Linked DNA regions of Homo sapiens: all the other regions are linked to region 3. Evidence: promoter capture Hi-C in human tissues and cell types (Jung and others, 2019). All regions are on one chromosome and are shown on one strand. The core of a region is centred on a gene start or on the middle of the fragment in contact, and the rest is flanking DNA. Distances in the headings are between cores, read along the strand shown. Region 1 overlaps NFYB (nuclear transcription factor Y subunit beta). Region 2 has its middle 3.9 kb from the start of HCFC2. Region 3 holds the start of EID3 (EP300 interacting inhibitor of differentiation 3).

Region 1 (4,513 bases), core at 1,410-3,909, 180 kb before region 3:
TACAGCTTCAGGCCGGGCACAGTGGCTCGTGCCTGTAATCCCAGCTACCAGGGGAGGCTGAGGCAGGAGAATCGCTTGAACCTGGGAGGTGGAGGTTGCAATGAGCCGAGATCACGCCACTGCACTCCAGCCTGGGCAACAAGAGCGAAACTCCGTCTCAAAAAAAAAAAAAAAAGTTACAGCTTCATACACCCAAACCTGATAGTTCTGACAACGTACCTATTTTTTAAAACAGTCGGGCCAGGCACAGTGGCTCATGTCTATAATCCCAGCACTTTGGTAGGCCAAGGCGGATGGATCACCTGAGGTCGAGAGTTCAAGACCAGCCTGACCAACATGGAGAAACCCCATTTCTACCAAAAATACAAAATTAGCTGGGCATGGTGGTGCACGCCTGTAATCCCAGCTACTCGGGAGGCTGAGGCAGGAGAATTGCTTGAACCTGGGAGGCGGAGGTTGCAGTGAGCGGAGATTGTACCATTGCACTCCAGCCTGGCCAATAAGAGTGAAACTCTGTCCCCAAAAAAAAAAAAAAAAAAAAAAAACAGTCTAAATTCTATTTTATCTGCCTCCAATAAGTGGGAGAGAGGAGAACATTTAGGGACATGACAGAATTGAAAATGGGACACTGTTCAGTAACTGTGTATGTAGACATGAAAGAAATATTTGATTTGCTGAAAGCCTGAATGATTGAAATCAACAGCTAACTGTACCCATGACCTATGAATTCATGTAGTTTCGTGTTTCCCTTGAAAAAACCTAGTTAAATTTCTCCTCTACGTTACCTTTCCCGTTTGAGGTATGGCATTTTTCATTATCCTAGCCACGTTTGCTATTGGAAGATATATATCTTGTTCTCTGAAACTTTCTTTTGAACCATTTGTGTCTTCATGATCATTCATGCTGTCCTCAGTATCTAAAGAAATAAAAATATTTAGGTGTAAAGCTTCTTATTATTTCTATTTCAAGATAGAAAAAACTACCAAAGTGATCCAGAATAAAATCATTCTGGTTCACCTCTTAACCATTATTTAGGGATTAGGATAGCAAGTCTCTTCATAATTTTTACAGAGCCAGAACTGAACTTTTTTTTTATTAATTTCAGACTCACTGCCTAGAACACTTTTTATCCTCAAATATACCTGCTAAAATCCTACTTGCCCATTCTCCAAAAATCTCAAATAACATCTCCATACCACCTTCAAAAATGATCTTTTCTTTCATAAAATGTAAGTGCTTCTCTATGCCTTTTCTCTTACACATTTTTAGAATTTTTATTATTCCTCATTTCTCCTATTAGATTTTTGCTACTTAATGTCACGAATCAGCTTTGTGTTTCCTACAGCTTGGTACAGCACCTTCCACAGAGTAGGTACTCATAAATATTTATTATACGACTTAGCTATAAAACTTACAGACCGTAACCTATGGCTCCTTCAATACTGCTAGATTAAGAGGTTGTATGTTTCTCCAAACCCAAGTTTATATAAACTCATTTATGTAAAAGTCTATATAAAACTTTTAAAGTTGATATAAAGTTGTCTTGTCTGTATAAAGTTTATATAAAATTCTTTAAAGAATGGAAAAACTGGACTTGATTATTACTGATCCAGTTGGCTTACTAATGTAACTAGTTTTTGAACAAAGCTAGAGCAGTGATCCAACTGTTCATACAAAAAGGGACTTTTCAAATTATATAAATTTAGCTATAACTGAAGCTTGCGCAGTACCAATAACATCCTTTTATGACTAAATGCAGTATCCTGTAAGTAAACTGCCCACTCTTCATATGTACTAAGTAAGGAGGCAAGGCACTTAAGTTGATTCAATTTACGTTTTTATGTGTTTAAAATGATGTTATCAGAATTAATTTATTTGAATATCCGTTTCAGGATGAAATTAATCCCTCTGGCAAGTTTCTTCTAAAAATATATCTCAATTTTTAAAAATTTTACAAATCAGGCCAGGCGTGGTGGCTCATGACTATAATCCCAGCACTTTGGGAGGCTGAAGCAGGCAGATCATCTGAGGTCACGAGTTTGAGACCAGCCTGACCAACACAGCGAAACCCTGTCTCTACTAAAAAAAAATTAGCTGGGCATGGTGCTGGGCGCCTGTGATCTCAGCTAACGGGCAGGCTGAGGCAGGAGAATTGCTTGAACCCAGGAGGCGGAGGTTGCAGTGAGCCAAGATTGTGCCACTGCACTCCAGCCTGGGCGACAGAGCAAGACTCCATCTCAAAAAAAATAAAAAATAAAAAAAAAAAAAAAATTTTTTTTACAAACCAAAATGCCACAAAAGTAAATTATTTCTGATAGGCCAACATAACACTGCCTTTTTTTTTTTTTTTTTTTTTGGAGACAGGGTCTCACTTTGCACTTTGTCACCCAGGCTGGAGTGTGCAGTGGTGCAAACATGGCTCACTGAAGCCTCTACCTCCCAGATTCAAGCAATCCTCCCACCTCAGCCCCCAGCCCCCTAAGTAGCTGGGACTACAGGTACATGCCACCAAGCACAGCTAATTTTTTAATTTTTTTGTAGAGGTGGGGTTTCACCATGTTGCCCAGGCTGGTCTCGAACTCCTGAGCTCAAGTGATCTGCCCACCTTGCCCTCCCAAACTGCTGGGATTATAGGTGTGAGCACCACACTGAGCCAACACTACCATTCTAATACCTGACATAGTTCAAAGTTAATATTGAATGAAAACCAAAAATAAATCATAAGTGCAAGAAATATAATAGCTAGAAATTTAACTCACCCTCTAAATAATTATTTTAGTTACCCTATCAATTGATTATAAATTTCTTATTTAACATTTAAACAGGAAGTCGATAACAAATTTTAAAAGAAACTGTACAGATTTTAGACAAGGTGTATTTTTATAGTAAAAGTCTTTTCAAGGACTCATTCTTTTGAAGACTATTTCTAATAAAAATAGCATGGTACGCCTTTTTAGACTTTCTCATTGAACCGTAACACAAGATTGTAAATTTTCCTATAAAGACACAAGTAGCCTAGAACACCATATTAATGAAATGTCCACTTTCTAACTTGCTTCAACTTGAGAATTTGGTTCTAATTGTGGCTTGCTTACCATCATGAGGCTGTATAACATAATGACTTCCTCCAATATAGTCTGCAGAGATTCCTAGTTGAGAAGCATCTGTTGTAGAACTGTCACCATCCATCTATGAGGAGAAAAACAGTTTTTCAATACTTTTCAAAGTACTAACAAACGTAACAGATTCAACACTTATAAACTGTCACAGGATGATGCATCAATTATACTTTTCATAGCCTTAAGCTTACTAAAAGAGAATTTATATTTCTTTTTTAAAAAATTAATTATTTTTTTGAGACAGGGTCTTACTCTGTGGCCCAGGCTGGAGTGCAGTGGCGTGATCACAGCTCACTGCAGAATCCACCTCCCAGGCTGAAGCAATCCTCCCACCTCAGCCTCCTGAGTAGCTGGACTACAGGCATGCACCACCATGCCTGGCCAATTTTTTTGTATTTTTAGCAGAGACAGGGTTTTGCTATGTTGCCCAGGCTGGTCTGGAACTCCTGGGCTCAAACAAACCACCTACCTCAGCCTCCCAAAATGCTGAGATTACAGGCATCAGCCACCGCAACCAGCCTATATTTCTTGATTTGGAAACTTTCCCACAATTTGTCCACGATTCAAGATTTCCCTATCCATCTTCCATAAGTGATATAAGCATAAGGCCAATAGCGACAAGGAAATGAATCTAAAGCATATGCCTCTTTCTTTTTAAGTGCATAATCTTCAAATATAGTACCACAGGCAACCCTGACTTACAACCTAATTTATCCCTGGAATGATGATCAGCTTAGTAAAGCTGTACACAGTGTCATGTACCTGTAGCCCCAACTGCTCAGAAGCTGAAGCAGGAGGACTGCTTGAGCTCAAGAGTTCCAGACCAGCCTGGTCAATGTAGTGAGAACCTGTCTCTTAAAAAAAAAAATCAGCTTAAGTCATCAACTGGAATTCACCTGTATCCATCACTTCCAGCTCTCCTGCTAAACCCTGATTTTCCTTTTGCTCCTGCTTGCGAACTTTCTTTGCTTTCTCATAGAAGTTCCAAAATAGACAATGTCTCCGTTCAAACTGTTACTTGGTATAAGAAGCATGCGGATTCTCTGCACAATTCTGTACCCAGGCAAGCCAAAAGTACACCCATGTTTTGAATGAACCCATAAACTCCTGATTCTAGTCAAAGGTTAATTTTCTCTCCCCCTGCCAAATCAGGGCCAGGTGTGGCTCATGCCTGTAATCCCAGAACTTTGGGAAGCCAAGGTGGGAGGATCACTTGGGCCCAGAAGTTCAAGATCAGCCTGGGCAACACAGTGAGACCCTGTCTCTAAAAAAAAACAAAAATTAAGAAATTAGCCAGGCGTTGTGGCATGTGCCTGTAGTCCTAACTACTTGAGAGGCTGAGGTGGGAAGATCACTTGAGCCTAGGAGGTTGAGGCTGCAGTGAGCTGTGATCA
Region 2 (4,359 bases), core at 1,627-4,126, 240 kb before region 3:
TGCTTCCTTGCTGCCACTTTGGAACCATATTATCTCATTTAATCCTTTGACTAACCCTAAGAAGCAGATGCTCTTATTATTCCCATTTTATAGACAAAGAATCTGAGGTTCAAAGAGGATAAATAATTTGACCAAGGCCATACAACTAGTTAAGTAGCTACAACCTATTGGGTCTTAAAGCCCTTGATCTTAACCCCAAATGAAACAGTCCAGGTAAATGACTCTGGTGGGTGTTTGATACGGAGGAGTGGGCAGAGAGGAGAGGAAGTAGTGAGAGATGAAAGTACCTTCTCTAACATATGCCTAAAAAGTCTAGAGCAGCACTGTCCAATAGAGCTTTCTATAACACAACAGATGCTCCCTTACCCAAGGGGGATACATTCAAAGACCCCCAGAGATGCCTAAAACCACGGATAGCACCAAATCCTATATACCTCTAACTAAGACAGCTACTCAATTACGAATGGGCAGGTGGCACATACAGTGTGGAAACACTGGACAAAGGATGATTCACATCCCAGGCAGGTAAGAGCGGGACAGCGCAAGACTTCATCATGTGACTCAGGATGTTACACAATTTAAAACTTACAAATTGCTTATTTCTGGAATTTTCCATTTAATATTCTCAGACTGCATTGACTGTGGGTAAGTGAAACCATGGCTAAAGAGGGATTCCTGTACATGTATAGAATACATAATATTTATATAATCTATAATAGAGAATTAATGTATCTATTCAACCCTGGTATACATGTAGGTATACATGGACTTCAGGATCCATCTTTTCTTGATCCTCCAGGACTTTGATCCACCAAATCCCAGCTCTTTCTGAACAGATCTACTTGCCCTATGGGATGTAATTTCCAGTGGAGCTGCTCTACTTCACTAAGTACTCAGGAAATTAGGCTTCTTCCAGCTCATGGTCCAAGATGGCTGCTCCAGTTCTAGCCATTACATCTACATTCCAGACAGCAGGAAAGAGTAAGAGAAAGGAAGCTTCCCTCCTCTAGAACACATTCTGGAATTATATATATTACTTTTGCTTACAACCCATAGGTCAATATTTAGCCACAGGCCACAACAAGTTGAGGGAAGCTTGGGAAATTAGTTTTTATTTAGAATGGTCATGTGCCCAGCTCAGAGTCCAGATTCTGTTACTGAAAAGAAAAGGAGAGCAGATCTTGAAGGAGAGTGGGTACAGTAGTCTGGGAAAGTTCTTATTTGTTTGTATTTTGTTTGTTTGTTTTTTTCCTTCCCAGCCTCAATAATGAGAGGCAGGCAAGGAGAAGGTTGGAAATGATTGCTGGTTGTGCTCTTCCGACCTTTTGTTTGCAACTGGATCCTTCTTCTGGGCCCACAAGTCTCACCATCCAAAATAATAACAATTTACACAGTACCTCTCTCTCCTTGCCAGCCATTGTTCTTTCTTTCCTTACATGGCCAAGTCTCTGTAAAGAATAGACTACACATGTTATCCGCATTTTCTAACTCATGCTTCAGTTCTCTCTGGCTTCTTTCCCTCCCACTCCATTGAAAACATTTTAATTCTAGGCCACTACTAACCTCCTAATTTGCAAATCCAACAGTTGCTTCTTCGTCCTCTTCTTCCCTGACCTCTCTGTGGCTTTTGGCTTTCCTTACCACTTCTGCCTCTATGAAACCCTCTTTGCCTGTGGCTTCTTTGACATCACCCTCACCCAGTTCCCTTTTAACTTCTCTGGCTACCTATTCTCTATTTCCTTCATGAGTGCCTCCTCTTGTCTTTACCCCATCAATGCTGGCTTCTTCAGGGTGCTATTTTCCATCCCTCTTCTCCAAACTCTCCTCCTAGGTTGTTGTTTCCAAACTACATTCTTGAAGTTTCAGAGATTGAAGGTACTTTACTGTGAAATGGGGACCTATTTTAGATGCCTCCCTCAAGGACAGATTACTCAAAACTGCTCTACTAAAACATCTTTCCCATTGGATTATGTACTTTGTCATAGATTGAATTGTATCTCCCCCAAAAGACATGCTGAAGCCTTAACCCGCTGTACCTATGAATATGACTTTATTTGGATATGGGATCCTTGCTGATATAATCAAGTTAAGATGAGATCACAGGATGAGCCCTAATCCAATATAACTAGTGAATTTATAATAAGAGGAGAAGAGGCTGGGCGCAGTGGCTCACATCTGTAATCCCAGCACTTTGGGAGGCTGATGCAGGAGGATTGCTTGAGCTCAGGAGTTCAAGACCAGCATGGGAAACATGGTAAAACCTCATCTCTAGAAAAAATTTAAAAACTAGCCAGGCATGGTAGTGCACACCTATAATCTCAGCTACTCCAAAAGCTGAGGTGGGAGGATCACTTAAGCCTGGGAGGTGGAGGCTGCAGCAAGCTGAGATCGCACCATTGCACTCCAACCTGGATGACAGAGCCAGACCTTGTCTCAAAAAGAAAAAAAAAAAAGAAGAGACAGACACACAGGGAGAACACCACGTGATGATGTGATGGAGTCAGAGACTGGAGTGATTCATTGACAAGTCAAGGGCTGCCATGGATTGACAGCTGCCACCAGAAGCTAGAAAGAGGCATGGAAGCATTCTTTCCTACAGGTTTTGCAGGGATCACAGCCCTACTGACACTTTGATTTCAGACTTATATATCCTTCAGAACTGTGAAACAAAACATTCCTATTGTTTCACAGCAGCCCTAGGAAACTAGTACACATTTCCTCATCACCCTGCAGCTCCCTATCTAAGCCACCAGTTATAGCTTGCAATCTCTTTTGTCTTAAAAATATTTTGCCTTAATTTTTCTCCTAGTTCAAGGGTACTTGGGCTTTCAAATATCATAGACTAGTTTTTTTAAATTTGAAGTTCAACATTAGGGTTGGAACGTTTGATTTTTTCCTTTAACCTTGTGCTATAAGGGCATTAGAAAAAAACTACCATCTAGGCACAAAACTCTCAGAACAAAGTACAGTTCTTTAAATTAAACACTTTGGGTTTTATGAAAAACTCACTGCTTTATTCCAACTCTTCCAGTTTTATTTCAAATCCATAAAAACTTTATTATGGCAACATTTAAGAGCCTCCTATGTTATGTATGTGACATAGAAAAATATTAATAGATAAATATTCATAACCTCTTTTCTGTTCGCAGACATCTTATTTCTCCCTCCCTTTCCAAATTCTCTTTGGACATATTATGAAATTGGGCTGGCCAGGCGCAGTGGTTCATGCCTGTAACCCCAGAACCTTAGGAGACCAAGGTGGGCAGATCACCTGAGGTTGGGAGTTCAAGACTAGCCTGACCAACATGGAGAAACCTCATCCCTACTAAAAATACAGAATTAGCCAGGCGTGGTGGTGCATGCCTGTAATCCCAGCTACTCAGGAGGCTGAGGCAGGAGAATTGCTTGAACCTAGGAGGTGGAGGTTGCAGTGAGCCAATATCGGCGCCATTACACCCCAGCCTGGGCAACAAGAGCAAAACTCCATCTCAAAAAAAAAAAAAAAAATGGGTTAATACTCAGTGAGAGGGAGAATTTAAGAAGCAGAAGCTAAAAAAAATAGTGAGAATTCCTTTTGGGGTTTTTGTTTGTTTGTTTGTTTTTTAGACTGAGTTTTGTTCTTGTTGCCCAGGCTGGAGTGCAATGGCACCATCTTGGCTCACTGCAACCTCTGCCTCCCAGGTTCAAGTGATTCTCCTACCTCAGCCTCCCAAGTAGCTGGGATTACAGGCATGCACCACCACGCCCGGCTAATTTTTGTATTTTTGGTAGAGATGGGTTTCACCATGTTGGCCAGGCTGGTCTCGAACTCCTGACCTCAGGTAATCTGCCCTCCTCGGCCTCTCAAAGTGCTGGGATTACAGGTGTGAGCCACCGCACCCGTCCTGAGAATTCCTTTTTAAAACATAGAGAGTTATCTCTCAAAAAAAGCTTAGATAGATGAGAAGGTGGAGAAGCATGCTGAGGTTTAAGGGAGTTGGGTGAATGAGGCATATAAGAGAAATTGAAAATGGTAAAATAAGAGGAAAAAAGAGTTTTAGGAAATTTACTATACAGTGTCTGTGTTCTCCTTTGAGTACCTCTTGAGAATCTGAGGTAGGGATTTAAATTGCTTTCAATTTTTTCTTCCACTGGACTTGTATCTCTTATTTATCTCTCTTTAATAAAAATAGAGATGGGATCTCACCATCTTGACCGAGCTGGTCTCAAACTCCTGGGATCAGTGGATCCTTCTGTCTCAGCCTCCAAAAGTGCTGGGATTACAGGTGTGAGTCACCATGCCCAGTCCTTTTTCAATTAAAATTTTAAAAAATAACTTGTATTGTGGATATTTAAGATATACAATATGAAGTTGATATC
Region 3 (4,856 bases), core at 2,211-4,710:
CTGTATTGAACCCTGGGTAGCAACTCTTGAGCGAAGAAAGAGGAAAAAGGGGAAAGAGGGGAGCTAAATTATCTCTGAGGCAACTCAGTCTCATGGTTGCCTGAACTAGTCTATACTGCGGGAATAAGGTAGACGCCACTGGTTTCTTTGAAGTACCAGTGCGCTTCTTGCTTTCTATTCCTGGTCACAGACAAATTTATCAGTAGTGCAGTTTCTTCTTTTTAAGCTTCATTTAAATAATTATTAGTAGCACTTGGACCTTAGGTTAGGAAATCACTGTTTAATGACTTAAAGATTAACCGGCATGGAAATCCCATTCTTTATATGATTGGGGAGAGTTATTGAACTTGAGATTGTTTTACTTTGTAGCAATGTCTAAAGGCAGATTTGTTTTGTTTTGTTTTGTTTTTGAGGCGGGGTTTCGCTCTTGTTGCCCAGGCTGGAGTGCAATGGTGCAATCTTGTCTCACCCGCAACCTCTGCCTCCCAGGTTGAAGTAGCAGGGATTACAGGCATGTGCCACCACGCCCAGCTAATTTTCTATTTTTAGTAGAGACGTGGTTTCTCCATATTGATCAGGCTGGTCTCAAACTCCTGACCTCAGGTGAGCCACCCACCTCGGCCTCCCAAAGTGCTGGGATTACAGGTGTCAGCCACCGCACCTGGCCTAAAGGCAGATTTTTAAAGGTGGAACATAATGCAAGTCTGCCTTTCTTAGGATGATCTAAGTTACATGTTAATAAAGTTCTTGGAGATCTAGCATAGAATGCATTCAGCACTGTAAATCACAACTTAATGTTTGCCTCGATATGCTCTGTTGCTCTGAGCAAGTTGTGTGGGCTGTTATCTCCTGAGAAATCCCTGTAAATGGTATTAGTAATACTTTATAAGCAGGTTGGGAGAATATAGTTTTCTAAGGCATTTTGAAATTCTTAGATGAAAGGGTCTTTATGTAGCAAATTGGTGTCAGCCTATTTTCCTTCCTCTGAGCCAGAAGAAAATAGGCACCATAGGGTGGGAAGGGTTGGCTTATCTGTTAGAGTTCTTTTGTAAGTAGCTTTTGTTGAATTTTTTTTTTGAGATGGAGTCTCGCTCTGTCGCCCAGGCTGGAGTGCAGTGGCGCGATCTTGGCTCACTGCAAGCTCCGTCTCCTGGGTTCAGGCTAGTCTCCTGCCTCAGCCTCCAGAGTAGCTGGGACTACAGGCGCCTGCAACCACGCCCGGCTAATTTTTTGTATTTTTAGTAGAGACGGGGTTTCACCGTGTTAGCCAGGACGGTCTTGATCTCCTGACCTCGTGATCCGCCCGCCTCAGCCTCCCAAAGTGCTGGGATTACAGGCGTGAGCCACCGTGCCCGGCTGCTTTTGTTGAATTTAAAGTGGATGTGAGAAGCTCCTAAGAATATCGTTCACTGTAAAAGCAGACTTTTTTGGATTTGGGTCTTGGAATTCTTAACTGTATTTTCACCTAAGATTTAAAACAAGTTCAAATACTAGTTTGTAATTGGCCAGACTAGGGACAGATACGATCCTTGAATGATCCTGGGTCTCAACTTACCTTTCTTTCATTTTTCCTTTATTTTAGAAGAGGGATAAGAACTTTTTCTGAAGAGCAGTCAACTTTTCCTTTCAGTGTGTAGGATTAATTCCACGAATCTGTGAACTTAAATCTTTGCTGCCAAATAACTTGCAGTAGATGCTGGGATAGTTTTAAATCTATTTTAAGTTATACATTCAGTACATAAGTGCATCTCCGTGTAAAAACAGCTATGTTTGGAAGATCTAAAACGCAGCTTTTGTTTTTGAGAAGCCAACAATCTAATAGGGTAGGATCATATATATGTACAACTAACCGTAATGCATGGTGTTTTGAAAAATGCACGTATCTCCCTGAATTACCCCTAGTTAATAAAATAATTGGGAGCAAATGGTAATATAAGGATTTTGGAGTAACTTAATACTACTAGATTTTGCTGTTTATACATTTACAAAAAACTTTCTGCTAATGCTAAAGAAATAGAACAAGTCTATATGCATAAAGGAAGGTAGGGCTAATTTACTTCCTGGTGCTATGAAACTGGCAATTGGACAGGTGCAATTGTGGGTGTCTTTTTTTTTTTAAGGTGTACCTGTTGCAGGTTTGAAAAGCTGTTGATGCTCATGGGTTGTTTGTGTGCATGTTCTCTTTAAAAACCAGATGTATTCATTCCCTTTTTTTTTTTTTTTTTTTTTGAGACGGAGTCTCGCTCTATAGCCCAGGCTGGAGTGCAGTGGCCCGATCTCGGCTCACTGCAAACTCCGCCTCCTGGGTTCACGCCATTCTTCTGCCTCAGCCTACCGAGTAGCTGGGACTATAGGCGCCTGCCACCGCGCCCGGCTAATTTTTTGTAGTTTTAGTAGAGACGGGGTTTCACCGGGTTAGCCAAGATGGTCTCGATCTCCTGACCTCGTGATCCGCCCGCCTCGGCCTCCCAAAGTGCTGGGATTGCAGGCGTGAGCCACCGCGCCCGGCCATTCCCATTGTTATGTATACTTTGCTATTTGCTGCTGGTGAGACAGATAAGGAGTCACGTCTTTAACTGCACTTGAGTTTCCAGTGACCCCATTAAATCCAATGGGTAAATTTTCCCACGCAGATTACTCACCCAGTTTACAGATTAAGCTTTCATATCCTTAGACTGTATCTGAAATTTTCATAGCTTTGCCCACCTTTTAGGGTTCAGAGTTACTACCCATTCAGTGTCGGTGGCCTTTAGCTGTTGGCAAGCTTCCAAGTAAATAGCTCTTTTGCAGAGATCTCTACCCATTCTATTCTTCCACTCCTGGGTAGTGGAGAACCAAAGTTCACCTGAGTAATGCCCGTGCCCAGCACCCAGTTTCCTGCAGGGGTTAGCACGGATATTGGAGGCTCCCCCGATCCCACAGATACTCAGGATGGGTATTGGAGGGGGCTTGGTTTTTAAGAGGACATGTGAAAGTAATTAACCCGATTTACATTTGTATAATGAGTCCAAACACCACCTTGCAAAAGAACTGAGAGTTTAGCCTGCTTAATGGAGTTTCTGCTTTTCACGGTCCTTGGCCTTACCGACGGTTTACAGTCCAGCCAGATTTAGTTCACAAAAAACCAAAACCAGGTCGACCTCACTGCAGTATATGATGGCAGCGAGCGTTTTAAAGCGCAGGACCTTTAGTCTCCTCAATAGTTTTGTGTAAAGTTGTCCAAAAGTGTTTTTTTTTAAAGTGAGGTGATCCAGTCGGTAAACGCTTTGAAAAAGAATAGCTGTCCCCTGAGCGGGCATTAGTCGCGTGTGAGGTCAGGGCCCATCATTGCGCGTGTTGGGAGCGCCGCGCTGGTCTATGAGCGAGCGCCTCGGCTTGTGGCTGGGCCGGGCCGGGGCGGGGCTGTCTTCCCGCGGAGCGTGCTGGGGGCGGGTCGCGCCGGGCCGGGCCGCTAGTGCGCATGGGCGGGCGTCCTCGGCTCTAACTGCCGCCACTTTCCACACGCTGGGAGGGCCGTTACCTCAGAGATACCCGTGGCCGGCATGTTGGTTGAAAAAGCTTCCCGGAAGGGAGACGAAGAGAAAGGAGAGGAGCAGCTCGTGATCATCCCCGGTAGCGAGTACGCGGCGAAGTAGGCGGCGGCGGAGGGAGCGCTGATGAAGATGGATGTGTCAGTGAGGGCCGCGGGCTGCTCCGACGACCTCAGCTCTGGGGAGGCCGACGTAGACCCAAAGCTCCTGGAGCTCACCGCTGACGAGGAGAAGTGCCGCAGCATCCGCAGGCAGTACCGGCAGCTCATGTACTGCGTGCGGCAGAACCGGGAGGACATCGTGAGCTCGGCGAACAACTCCTTAACCGAGGCTCTGGAGGAAGCCAACGTCCTCTTTGATGGCGTGAGCCGAACCAGAGAAGCAGCCCTCGACGCCCGGTTTCTTGTTATGGCTTCTGATTTGGGTAAAGAAAAGGCAAAGCAGTTAAACTCAGATATGAACTTCTTTAATCAGTTAGCATTTTGTGACTTTCTGTTTCTGTTCGTGGGTCTGAATTGGATGGAAGGCGATCCTGACAAGTTGAGTGATTGTGATGATAGCATAGCTCTTTCCTTCTGGAAGGCAATAGAAAAGGAAGCAACATCCTGGATGGTAAAAGCTGAGACATTCCATTTTGTTTTTGGTTCATTCAAGCTAGAACGTTCTGCACCAAAGCCCCGACTTGAACACCAGAAAAAAGTTCGCAAGATGGAAGAAAATGGCAACATGCCTACAAAGTTGCAGAAGTTGGACCTGAGTAGTTATCCAGAAGCGACAGAAAAAAACGTAGAAAGGATTTTGGGATTGTTGCAAACCTACTTTCGAAAGTATCCTGATACTCCTGTGTCCTATTTTGAGTTTGTGATTGATCCAAACTCTTTTTCTCGTACTGTGGAGAATATATTTTATGTTTCTTTTATTGTAAGAGATGGTTTTGCAAGAATAAGGCTTGATGAAGACAGGCTGCCAATATTAGAGCCGATGAATGTTAACCAAATGGGTGAGGGAAATGATTCCAGTTGCCATGGCAGGAAACAGGGAGTTATATCTTTGACTTTACAGGAGTGGAAAAACATTGTGGCAGCTTTTGAAATTTCTGAGGCTATGATTACATACTCCTCATACTAAAGATTTCTTAGTATAGCATCCTTTTTGTGTTTTTTTTCTGAAGTTAGATGGAGAGTAAAATGTAAACTGAAGCACATATTGTATCTCTTGTAAAGTGAAAAAGTATTTTCAAGAACATCAGACATTGTTTTACTGTGCAGCATATTTTTCTTAGTAATTTATAAGGTCATGATCTTCTGTTATTAAAACAAATTCACT

The links. The method cuts DNA at HindIII sites, captures the fragments that hold promoters and counts their contacts. A contact is called where the count stands out against the background at its distance.
Region 1: a contact is called between a fragment that was not itself captured here and the fragment with the promoter of EID3 in region 3, in 3 of the 25 tissues and cell types used here (IMR-90 fibroblasts, dorsolateral prefrontal cortex and mesenchymal stem cells).
Region 2: a fragment that was not itself captured here is called in contact with the fragment with the promoter of EID3 in region 3 in 1 of the 25 tissues and cell types used here (hippocampus).

Annotation. Positions count from the first base shown.
Region 1 is chr12:104,125,329-104,129,841 of GRCh38, forward strand. It overlaps NFYB (nuclear transcription factor Y subunit beta), which reads right to left. Exons shown (of 8, transcript NM_006166.4): 3 at 3,096-3,189; 4 at 786-916. Among named protein-coding and RNA genes, the nearest start is that of NFYB, 11 kb to the right of the region's middle. The HindIII fragment of the contact is 6,155 bases long and covers 1-4,513 here.
Region 2 is chr12:104,058,488-104,062,846 of GRCh38, forward strand. It overlaps a transcript of GLT8D2 not described here. Among named protein-coding and RNA genes, the nearest start is that of HCFC2, 3.9 kb to the right of the region's middle. RefSeq lists an enhancer at 4,078-4,247 and a cis regulatory region at 4,163. The HindIII fragment of the contact is 3,662 bases long and covers 1,046-4,359 here.
Region 3 is chr12:104,300,279-104,305,134 of GRCh38, forward strand. It overlaps EID3 (EP300 interacting inhibitor of differentiation 3), which reads left to right and starts at 3,461. Exons shown (of 1, transcript NM_001008394.3): 1 at 3,461-4,856. The coding sequence starts at 3,657. The coding sequence ends at 4,658. The region is part of intron 4 of TXNRD1 (thioredoxin reductase 1); the gene reads left to right. RefSeq lists enhancers at 720-889, 1,428-1,597, 3,389-4,261, 3,569-3,808, 3,839-3,898 and a silencer at 3,299-3,528. The HindIII fragment of the contact is 3,401 bases long and covers 1,443-4,843 here.